2 separate regions of the Homo sapiens genome follow, and region 1 is linked to region 2. The links are contacts of gene promoters, found by promoter capture Hi-C in blood cells and fetal thymus (Javierre and others, 2016). All regions are on one chromosome and are shown on one strand. The core of a region is centred on a gene start or on the middle of the fragment in contact, and the rest is flanking DNA. Distances in the headings are between cores, read along the strand shown. Region 1 holds the start of RNASE3 (ribonuclease A family member 3). Region 2 holds the start of TPPP2 (tubulin polymerization promoting protein family member 2).

Region 1 (4,545 bases), core at 1-2,500, 140 kb before region 2:
TTTCCATTTTCTAATCTCAAAGCTAGACCAGATTTAACATCTGTTAGTACCCAGGCCTTACCTTTGCAATTCACTTCTCACCTCTGTACAATTTCCCCACATCATCCCCTGTGCCCAGAATGCTCATCTCTTCTCTAAATCCCCTGAAAATCCCCTGCTTATCCTTTAGGACCTGCTGAAATAAACTTTTTTTTGAAGTTTTCCTTATTTCTCAAGCCAAGTGATTTCCTTCACCAGCAGTGTCCCTATGACACCATGTTCACACAAATGCTATTACCTCTATCACACTGTAATACAATTATATGTCTACAAGTACTTTCCTGTGTTTCTCTGAGGGCCAAGAATAAATGTATGCTTTGTGTATCAAACTGTACACTTGACCTCTATACTTTCAGGAATACAGTGCTCTGTCCTTAAATGTTCATTTGTAAATACAGAACCATATTCTTGTTAATATCACAAAATGAAACTTACCAGGAAGATGAATGACAACCCCAGAACACACTGTTTTGTAGAAAATACCATAGGCTGAAAAGATCACAGGAATACCGAGTGCTAGGTTGGAATCTTTCATGACACCAAATGTTCATTCATCCTCTGCCAGATTTTACAACTGTCCTCGGTGTGTTTTTAGGTTATGTAACTTTACACAAAGTGGAATCAATAATCAGGGCAAGACTTAAGAGAAAGTGGATCCAATGCAAGAGGAGTAAAGAAAAAAATTCCTCAATTGTATGGAGCAGATTGTTTTAATTATCTACAGAATCTTGTGCCCCAAGAAATTAATAGCTCAAGTTTCCAGCAAGAGTGGTGGATGAGATGGAGAGCATTTATGTGAGAGAGAACCAAGGATATTACTAAAAATGGAAGGGAAGCTGGGTTTCTCCTGGGCAAACAGCCCTCTGTGGCTCTATTTCTCCTAACTACTATGCCTGCCTTCGTGTCATTTAGTCATTTAGGGGCCTGCCAGAGGACAGTTATAAAATCTGTGGTCATTCTGCCGGCAGCGTATAGTTTTCACCCAGAGTCCAGATCCCACCGGCAAAACTCTGTCTAACACAGGATGACTTGGAATTAGAGTCCGTATAGCAGAAAGAGCAGCAGGGCTGTCCTTGGGTATCCGTTGCTCAGCCAAGTCATCAAATAAAAAGGATGATTGCACAAGTGGACCATGTGTCAATCTGTGGGTTTCTGCATGGCCAGACCCACCAAGGGAAGCTTTATTTAAACAGTTCCAAGTAGGGGAGACCAGCTGCCCCTGAACCCCAGAACAACCAGCTGGATCAGTTCTCACAGGAGCCACAGCTCAGAGACTGGGTAAGTCAACAATCCCCAGAGCTGGGACAGGAGGGGCAGCGACAGGGCAGCACCTGAGGGAGAGGTGAGCTGAAGTTAGTGCTTAGGAGATGTGGCACACTTTGGGGACAGGAAGAAAAGGAAATGCGACCCCAGAGTGGCAGCAGAGGGGCCTGTGGGTTGAGACACTATAGAGTGTGTCATAACCGAGACCGGATCGGGGAGTAGTTACTTCTCTTCTTTTCTTACAGGAAACATGGTTCCAAAACTGTTCACTTCCCAAATTTGTCTGCTTCTTCTGTTGGGGCTTATGGGTGTGGAGGGCTCACTCCATGCCAGACCCCCACAGTTTACGAGGGCTCAGTGGTTTGCCATCCAGCACATCAGTCTGAACCCCCCTCGATGCACCATTGCAATGCGGGCAATTAACAATTATCGATGGCGTTGCAAAAACCAAAATACTTTTCTTCGTACAACTTTTGCTAATGTAGTTAATGTTTGTGGTAACCAAAGTATACGCTGCCCTCATAACAGAACTCTCAACAATTGTCATCGGAGTAGATTCCGGGTGCCTTTACTCCACTGTGACCTCATAAATCCAGGTGCACAGAATATTTCAAACTGCACGTATGCAGACAGACCAGGAAGGAGGTTCTATGTAGTTGCATGTGACAACAGAGATCCACGGGATTCTCCACGGTATCCTGTGGTTCCAGTTCACCTGGATACCACCATCTAAGCTCCTGTATCAGCAGTCCTCATCATCACTCATCTGCCAAGCTCCTCAATCATAGCCAAGATCCCATCCCTCCATGTACTCTGGGTATCAGCAACTGTCCTCATCAGTCTCCATACCCCTTCAGCTTTCCTGAGCTGAAGTCCCTTGTGAACCCTGCAATAAACTGCTTTGCAAATTCATCTGGAAGTGTCTGTGTGTCTTCCTCGGCCGCTCTGCTGTCATTTAGTGACAATCTGCTCTAGAGATTTGGGTTTATCATGAATCTCTCCCCCTCAATATCTGACCAAATTCCTTAATTCCCCCATCATCCTTCATGTGATACCTGATTCCAGGCCTGCCTTAAAAAAAAATCCAATTGAGTCAACTTAGCATTGGTCTCCCTAGCCTTAATATCTCCTCTAAGCAATTTTCCATCCACTGACTCCTCCCCCAACACCAACCTATAACTTGTGTATAGATCTCCACTTGTTTTAGTTGTATTCCAGAATTGAGCCCAATTTGATATTGAGGTCCCATTTGATGCTTTATGGTCCGACTATGGTTTTTATTGACATGATTTCTATCCCAAGAAAAAAAGAGCTGCAGTGAATCAGCTGAAAATGCACGTGCTTCATTATGATTTATGAATGATAAATTTTGATAGAATTGAACGTTATGATAGAAAATAGAAAAGAAGAAAGTAGAAAAAGTCAAGAATGCTATAAATAAGGTGAAACCAAGATAAAGAAAAGTTTAGCCTCAGGGATATTTCTTTTAAATGGGCACATCAAGTCTCCAGCTATTAGCAATCGTAATAGAGGTGGAACCAGGGTTTGAGTCAAATGTGCAATAAGATAAATTGTTCCGACAGCAGTAAGGACAGATTGTAATGCTGACTGGAGGAGAGGTGGACATCTTTCCCAAAAGTTCCATGTCCTGGAGATGGGGAGCCGCTGGTCACGTGGGAAGGAGAAGGGGGAGGAGGAGGAGGAGGAAGTGGGAGCACTCATGAAGGTGAGTTGGCTCCTGCCCATTCTGCCCTCCATAGATGTTCCCAATGGCGAGTCAAAGGTTCATTCAACACCTGTCAGGAAGGGCACAGCCTCGAGAATTCAGGATTTGTAGACCCAGAGAGAGAAGAAATGGATGATGAGAGCCGCTGCCCTGGACTCCAACACAGGGCTTCACTCAGGAATCCATGAGAAACAGGGGAGAAAAAGGGGAAGCCCCTTCCTGCAAGTTGTGGACAGGTGCAGCATTCAAGTGATTGTTCCAGGAACAGAGTGGGTCTTTTTGAATGGCCCGACTCAGAATGCAAGAGAGGTACGATGCCATCAGATCTGCACCTTGGTCCTTCAGTCTGAGATTTCTGACTTCTATATTTCTCCTCCTCTTCCAGACCCTGAGAAACAGCAATTTCCATTCCTCAGATGACTCCATGTCAGTAATGGTGCTTTAATTGGCATCAGACAGCAGCTGTATTGAAGTCTCTCCTCTGGAGAAGCTATTGAGATCTTGCTTCTCCAAGGTCGGGCTGTGAACTTAAAAGTTTGCACAGAGACACTGAGTTTGGGAAATCTCAGTGCTCAACAGAATCCACTGACTCTAGGTAAAACAGGGCATGTCAGGAAGTGAGTGCAGTCTTCCCATAACCTCAGAGTAGCAGAAGGAGAAGGTGGGACTCTGAAAGCTGGAGCCACGTTTCCTGTGAAGAAAGATGGAGTGGACCTTCCTTGCTTCAGGTACCAGATCACAGGTCTCTTCTCAGTCGGGGATGCCTCATCTCTAAAACCACAGGATAGAGGGATCAGTCCCCACCTGCCCCCACACCCTCTCCACCTTGTGACTTCATCCTCTCTCGTCATTCATTCCTTCGTTCATTCATTCATCCAGCAGTCATCTACTGAGCAGATACCTTGCTCCAGGCACAGTTTGAGGGAGTGATGATGCAACACAAACCAAGACAGGTCCCTGCTCTTTTGAGGCCACATTATACAAGGATAAAAATAAACATACAAAATTGTTCTAAGCATACAAAATTTTGCTAAGTGTCAGGAGGAAAAATACACAGCATAGTACACAGAAAATTACACAGAGCAGCACAATATAGAGGTTCTGTATGTGCCACAAAAGTGACAGGGCAGAGTGTCACCAGGAAAGACTTATCTCAGAGAATGAAATCTGAACAGGAGGAAAAGCAGCCAGTCATGCAGACACCAGATGGAGAATCATCCCAGCAAAGAGAAAGAGAGTTCAAAAGTCCTGACAAATACCAAGGCTGTAAGAAGACTTTTCGTTCTGTGTTTACGATAAGTTGATTAAAACATCTGAAGGAGAATGACTACCATTATTCGCATCTTTGTATGTATTTATTCCTTAATGTAATAAAACATTTTCAGTTTTAAAAAATGGTCCTGAATGGATAGAGGTTTGGCGTGTTAGAAGCACAAAAGTTGTTTGGTCAGGACAAGATCATCATAGCCATGAGTGTTAATGATAGGAGTTAATGAGGTTCAGACCCTTCATGCCTG
Region 2 (4,403 bases), core at 608-3,107:
TCCCACTTCAGCCTCCTCAGTAGCTGGGACTACAGGTGCATGCCACCACTCCCAACTAATTTTTTTATTATTATTTATTTATCTAGAGACAAGGTCTCACTTTGTTGGCCTCCCAAAGTGCTGGAATTATAGGCATGAGCCACTGTGCCCTGCCCAAGAATAATGTTGATGAGAGGTGGGTGATGTTTGGTAGGGTAGATTGGGGCCTAGTTAGTTGTATAGGTCCTTGAATGCTAAGCAAAAAGATTTAGCAATGAGAAGCTATAGTATATCTTGAGCCACAGAATATTCTTGAGCAGGAGTAATAAAAAATACTGTTTTGTGAAAATTAATCTGATGGGGAGGAGGTAATAGAGATGGATTATGGGTGGGTGGGAGTGAAGAATTAGATTTAGAAAAGAGATCATTTAGAAACCAGAGTAGTCATCCAACTATGAGATGATAAGAACTTGAATAAGGGTGGAAGCAATAGGAATGGAAAGAAAGGCATAGATTTGTAAGACAAAGAAAAAAAATAGAAAGTGGTGGCATTATTAGATGGGAAAAGGAGGAAAGTCACCAGTCTCGTTGCTCTGTTTTAGGATCCGTGAGGTTCATCTATCTGTAGTGCTTCTGGCCAGAGAAAAGGCCGAAGAGAGAAAACCCTGAGGAACATCTTTGACCTGCATAGAAACTTATCTGAAGATTTTCAGAATCTGAGCCTCACCCTCAGTCTATCCCAGTTTTATCCTGACCTGTCCACATCTGTTATACTCCAAGGCTTGCTGGGCCCAACACTGGAAGCTATTTAATGTTTCTATTGCGACTGGCCTTTTAAAGCCAGTGGGATTCTCCATGCTACACTTGAGCCTGGAGACTAGAAAACATGACAGCCTGTTTTCATTAATCCGTTTTCATTAACTGCTGTGGTCTGAATGTTTATGTTGTCCACAGATTCATATATTAAAATCCTAACTCCCGGCTGGACGCAGTGGGTCACACCTGTAATCCCAGCACTTTGGGAGGCTGAGGCAGGTGGATCACTTGAGGTCAGGAGTTCGAAACCAGCCTGGCCAACATGGCAAAACCCCGTCTCTACTAAAAATGCAAAAATTAGCCAGGCATAGTGGCTGGGCTAATCCCAGCTACTGGGGAGGCTGAGGCATGAGAGTCGCTTGAATCCTGGGACTGGAGGTTGCAGTGCCCCAGGATCATGCCACTGCATTTCAGCCTGGGCAACAGACAGCGAGACTCCATCTCAAAATAAATACGCAAATAAATAAAATAAAATCCTAACTCCCAAAGTCATGGTATTAGGAGATGGGGCATTTTGGGGGGTGATTAAGTTTTATGAGGGCAGAGCCTTTCTGAATGGGATTCATACCCTTATAAATAGGCCCAAGGGAACTCATTCACCCCTTCTACCATGTGAGGACACAGCAAGAAGGTGCCATCTATGGACCGGAAAGCAGCCCTCACCAAACACTGAATCTGCCAGCACCTTGATCTTAGACTTCTCAGCCTTCAGAGCTCTGAGAAATAAATGTCTGTTGTTTATAAGCCACCCAGTTTGATATTTTGTTCTAGCAGCCCAAACAGACTACAACACCTTCCCTGGGCTCGCCTCAGCTTCTGTTGTGGGGCAGAGCATAAGGCAATTTGACTAGGACCCAGAGGATGGGTAAGCTTGGCTGAAATGATGGAAATGTGATCATCTGAAAAGGTCAGAAAGTTGGCAGTTTGCTCAATTCGGCATGCAAGGTAGGGAGACCAAAAGCCCCCTCCTTTGAAGGCAATGGCTGTAGCTGGGGCCAGAAGTGATGTCACATAACCACTGCTGAGGTCATAGAATCTTCCCTCTCCTCCCTCTGTCTCCTCATTGCCACAGCCAACCGGCTCCCACATATCTGCACACACTTAAATACAAAGGCCGGGAAGGGTCAGACCACCATCCGGGTACTCTAAGGTACATAAAAGAGGTAGGGGAAAGAGAGGATCATTCAGTAGGTAGGATCCACACTGGTATCTCCAATGCTGGGAATGGGAGACTCATGCTGTAGTTGCGTAGGTGCAATGGGAGCTGGGAGGGAGAAAGGAGAGAGCAACAGGGAAGAGGGGAGCTGTTCCTGTTGCTGACTGATTTTACCATAACACTCATCCTCATTACTCCACAGTCCTCCCTCCCCCTTCTCCTTCACCCCCAAGTGTCTCCCACGACTGCCCTCCCCGACCTCTAGCTGACCATGGCATCAGAGGCAGAAAAAACATTCCATCGGTTTGCTGCGTTTGGAGAATCATCAAGCAGTGGCACTGAAATGAACAACAAGAACTTCTCCAAGCTGTGCAAAGACTGTGGCATCATGGATGGCAAGACAGTCACCTCCACGGACGTGGACATCGTGTTCAGCAAAGTCAAGTGAGGAGCCAAAAATATGGAGGTGGGGGTGAGAAGAACCTGCGAGGTAGTTGGCCACGGAAGGGTTCACGTGGTGGAACATTTGCAGTGGGCCTACCAAGCACCACAGGGTACCTGGCGCTGTGCTATCCTTTGTCTTCGAGACACTCACTGATTGATAGGACAAAAGAGGCCAAATCTGAGTGAGGCAAGAGTTGGACCTTGGAAGGTAATGCATTCATGCTCCAAAGTTTCTGGATTTCTGTCTAACTGACCAGGGCCAAGAACGCCCGAACCATCACGTTTCAACAGTTCAAAGAGGCAGTGAAGGAACTGGGCCAGAAGCGCTTCAAAGGGAAGAGTCCAGATGAAGTCCTGGAGAACATTTATGGACTCATGGAGGGCAAAGACCCAGCCACCACTGGCGCTACTGTGAGTGACAGCCTTCATCCCCTTGACCCTACTTCCCTAAATCCCCATTGTTCCAGTCTACCCTCCCTAACCCTGCCAACTGTGTGACTGTAGAGACAGGGCCGAAACAGACTTTAGAGATCATCTAGACATTCCAGAAGTCAGGAAAATGTGGCCCAGAGAAGGGAAGTGACTTGCCCAAGGTCCATGGCTATTTTAATAGTAGATTTAGACTAATTTCCAAGTGTCTAGTATCTGAGCCAGGCAATTAGGGCTTGGTAGCTTTTGGAGGACATTAGTGTAGAGAATTTGGTACCTGATGCCCACTCCTCTTCCAATTCTTATTTAGGGTTTAATCTCAGGCCTCCTGCCTCTCACCTACTCCCTTTTTTAATTGTCCTGTCTGAACTAAAAGCTCTTTCTACAGTGGATATTGAGTCGGGGAGTGGGAGTGAAGTCCTCAGGCAGCAGCCTAGTCAGAATAACTCCTCTGGAAACAAAAAACCTACCCTCCCTCTGCACACGCCACACTCATTCCCACACCACACTCCTCCTCCCCCATGAGTGAACGGCTCTTACCAGAGTACCTGCCCACAGCTGTATCTGGGCCCTAAGAAAGCAGCACCCCATGCCAGTGGCAGAGCAAGAGCTCCAAGCACTTGTTCTAAGTATCTCGGGCCATCTTTGGGGAAGGGATATGACAGCGTAAGGAAAGGAAGAGAGCTCAAATCCATCCCTGGCTTGCAGAAAGCAACAACAGTGGGTGCAGTGGACCGTTTGACAGACACCAGCAAGTACACCGGCACCCACAAGGAGCGCTTTGATGAGAGTGGCAAGGGCAAGGGCATTGCGGGACGGGAAGAGATGACTGACAACACAGGCTATGTGAGTGGTTACAAGGGTTCTGGCACCTACGATAAGAAGACCAAGTAGAGAGGAGCTTCATCTCAGCCTGCTAGCCCCCTGACCCTGCATGTTTAACACCAGGGAGCTTGGAAAACAATAAACATCTGTGTGTGCAGCAGCCAAAATCTCTGTCTGTGAGGGACAGATGAGCCTACTAGTGTAGAGAGAGGGAGAAGAGGCAGCACAGGAGGGTGGGTTCTCCACCACACACCCTTCGCTCTGCTTAGCCTTATGCCTACCAGCCATCAGTTAGCATTCCTCCTCAACAGCTGCTTCCAAGAACAGGATGGAAGAATATATTTGGAGTAAAGAGATGAACCAGATGTGGAGGTAAAAGTATCTACTACTTGTGTTCACACATTACTGATATCCACCTCTCCACCCCCACCCCTCAAAAGGGTGTAGCAATTCCTCACGTGATGGACTATGACTATATCACATATTAGATCCTTCCCTGTCCCTCCACCTTCCTCATCTGTTGCAATTCAGGTTTTTTGGGTGGAGGAGTAGAAGCCAGCTAAGGTTGCCTGACTTCTATTACAAATTTGTTCCAGAGCTGGGGTAAGGGGAGAGTCTATTTTCAACACCCAGCCCAGAACTAAGTTTTACCCCACATCACCTCCATCATGGGGCACATGGGACAGAAGAGCTTACTGACTGCTAAGGGTAGCTCAGGAAGATGGCCAGATGAGGCAGGCTGCCAGGATTCCAA

The links. Contacts are between HindIII fragments. The CHiCAGO score rates a contact against its expected background, and 5 or more counts as called.
Region 1: the fragment with the promoter of RNASE3 here is called in contact with the fragment with the promoter of TPPP2 in region 2 in 8 of 17 cell types (erythroblasts, M1 macrophages, monocytes and 5 more); the score reaches 15.0 in erythroblasts.

What each region holds. Positions count from the first base shown.
Region 1 is chr14:20,890,135-20,894,679 of GRCh38, forward strand. It overlaps RNASE3 (ribonuclease A family member 3), which reads left to right and starts at 1,251. Exons shown (of 2, transcript NM_002935.3): 1 at 1,251-1,317; 2 at 1,548-2,214. The coding sequence starts at 1,553. The coding sequence ends at 2,035. The region is part of intron 1 of LOC100507513 (a long non-coding RNA gene); the gene reads right to left. The HindIII fragment of the contact is 4,045 bases long and covers 1,217-4,545 here.
Region 2 is chr14:21,028,360-21,032,762 of GRCh38, forward strand. TPPP2 (tubulin polymerization promoting protein family member 2) reads left to right here and starts at 1,858. Exons shown (of 4, transcript NM_173846.5): 1 at 1,858-1,945; 2 at 2,154-2,395; 3 at 2,653-2,806; 4 at 3,533-4,403. The coding sequence starts at 2,223. The coding sequence ends at 3,718. It also overlaps a transcript of NDRG2 not described here. The HindIII fragment of the contact is 5,962 bases long and covers 1,664-4,403 here.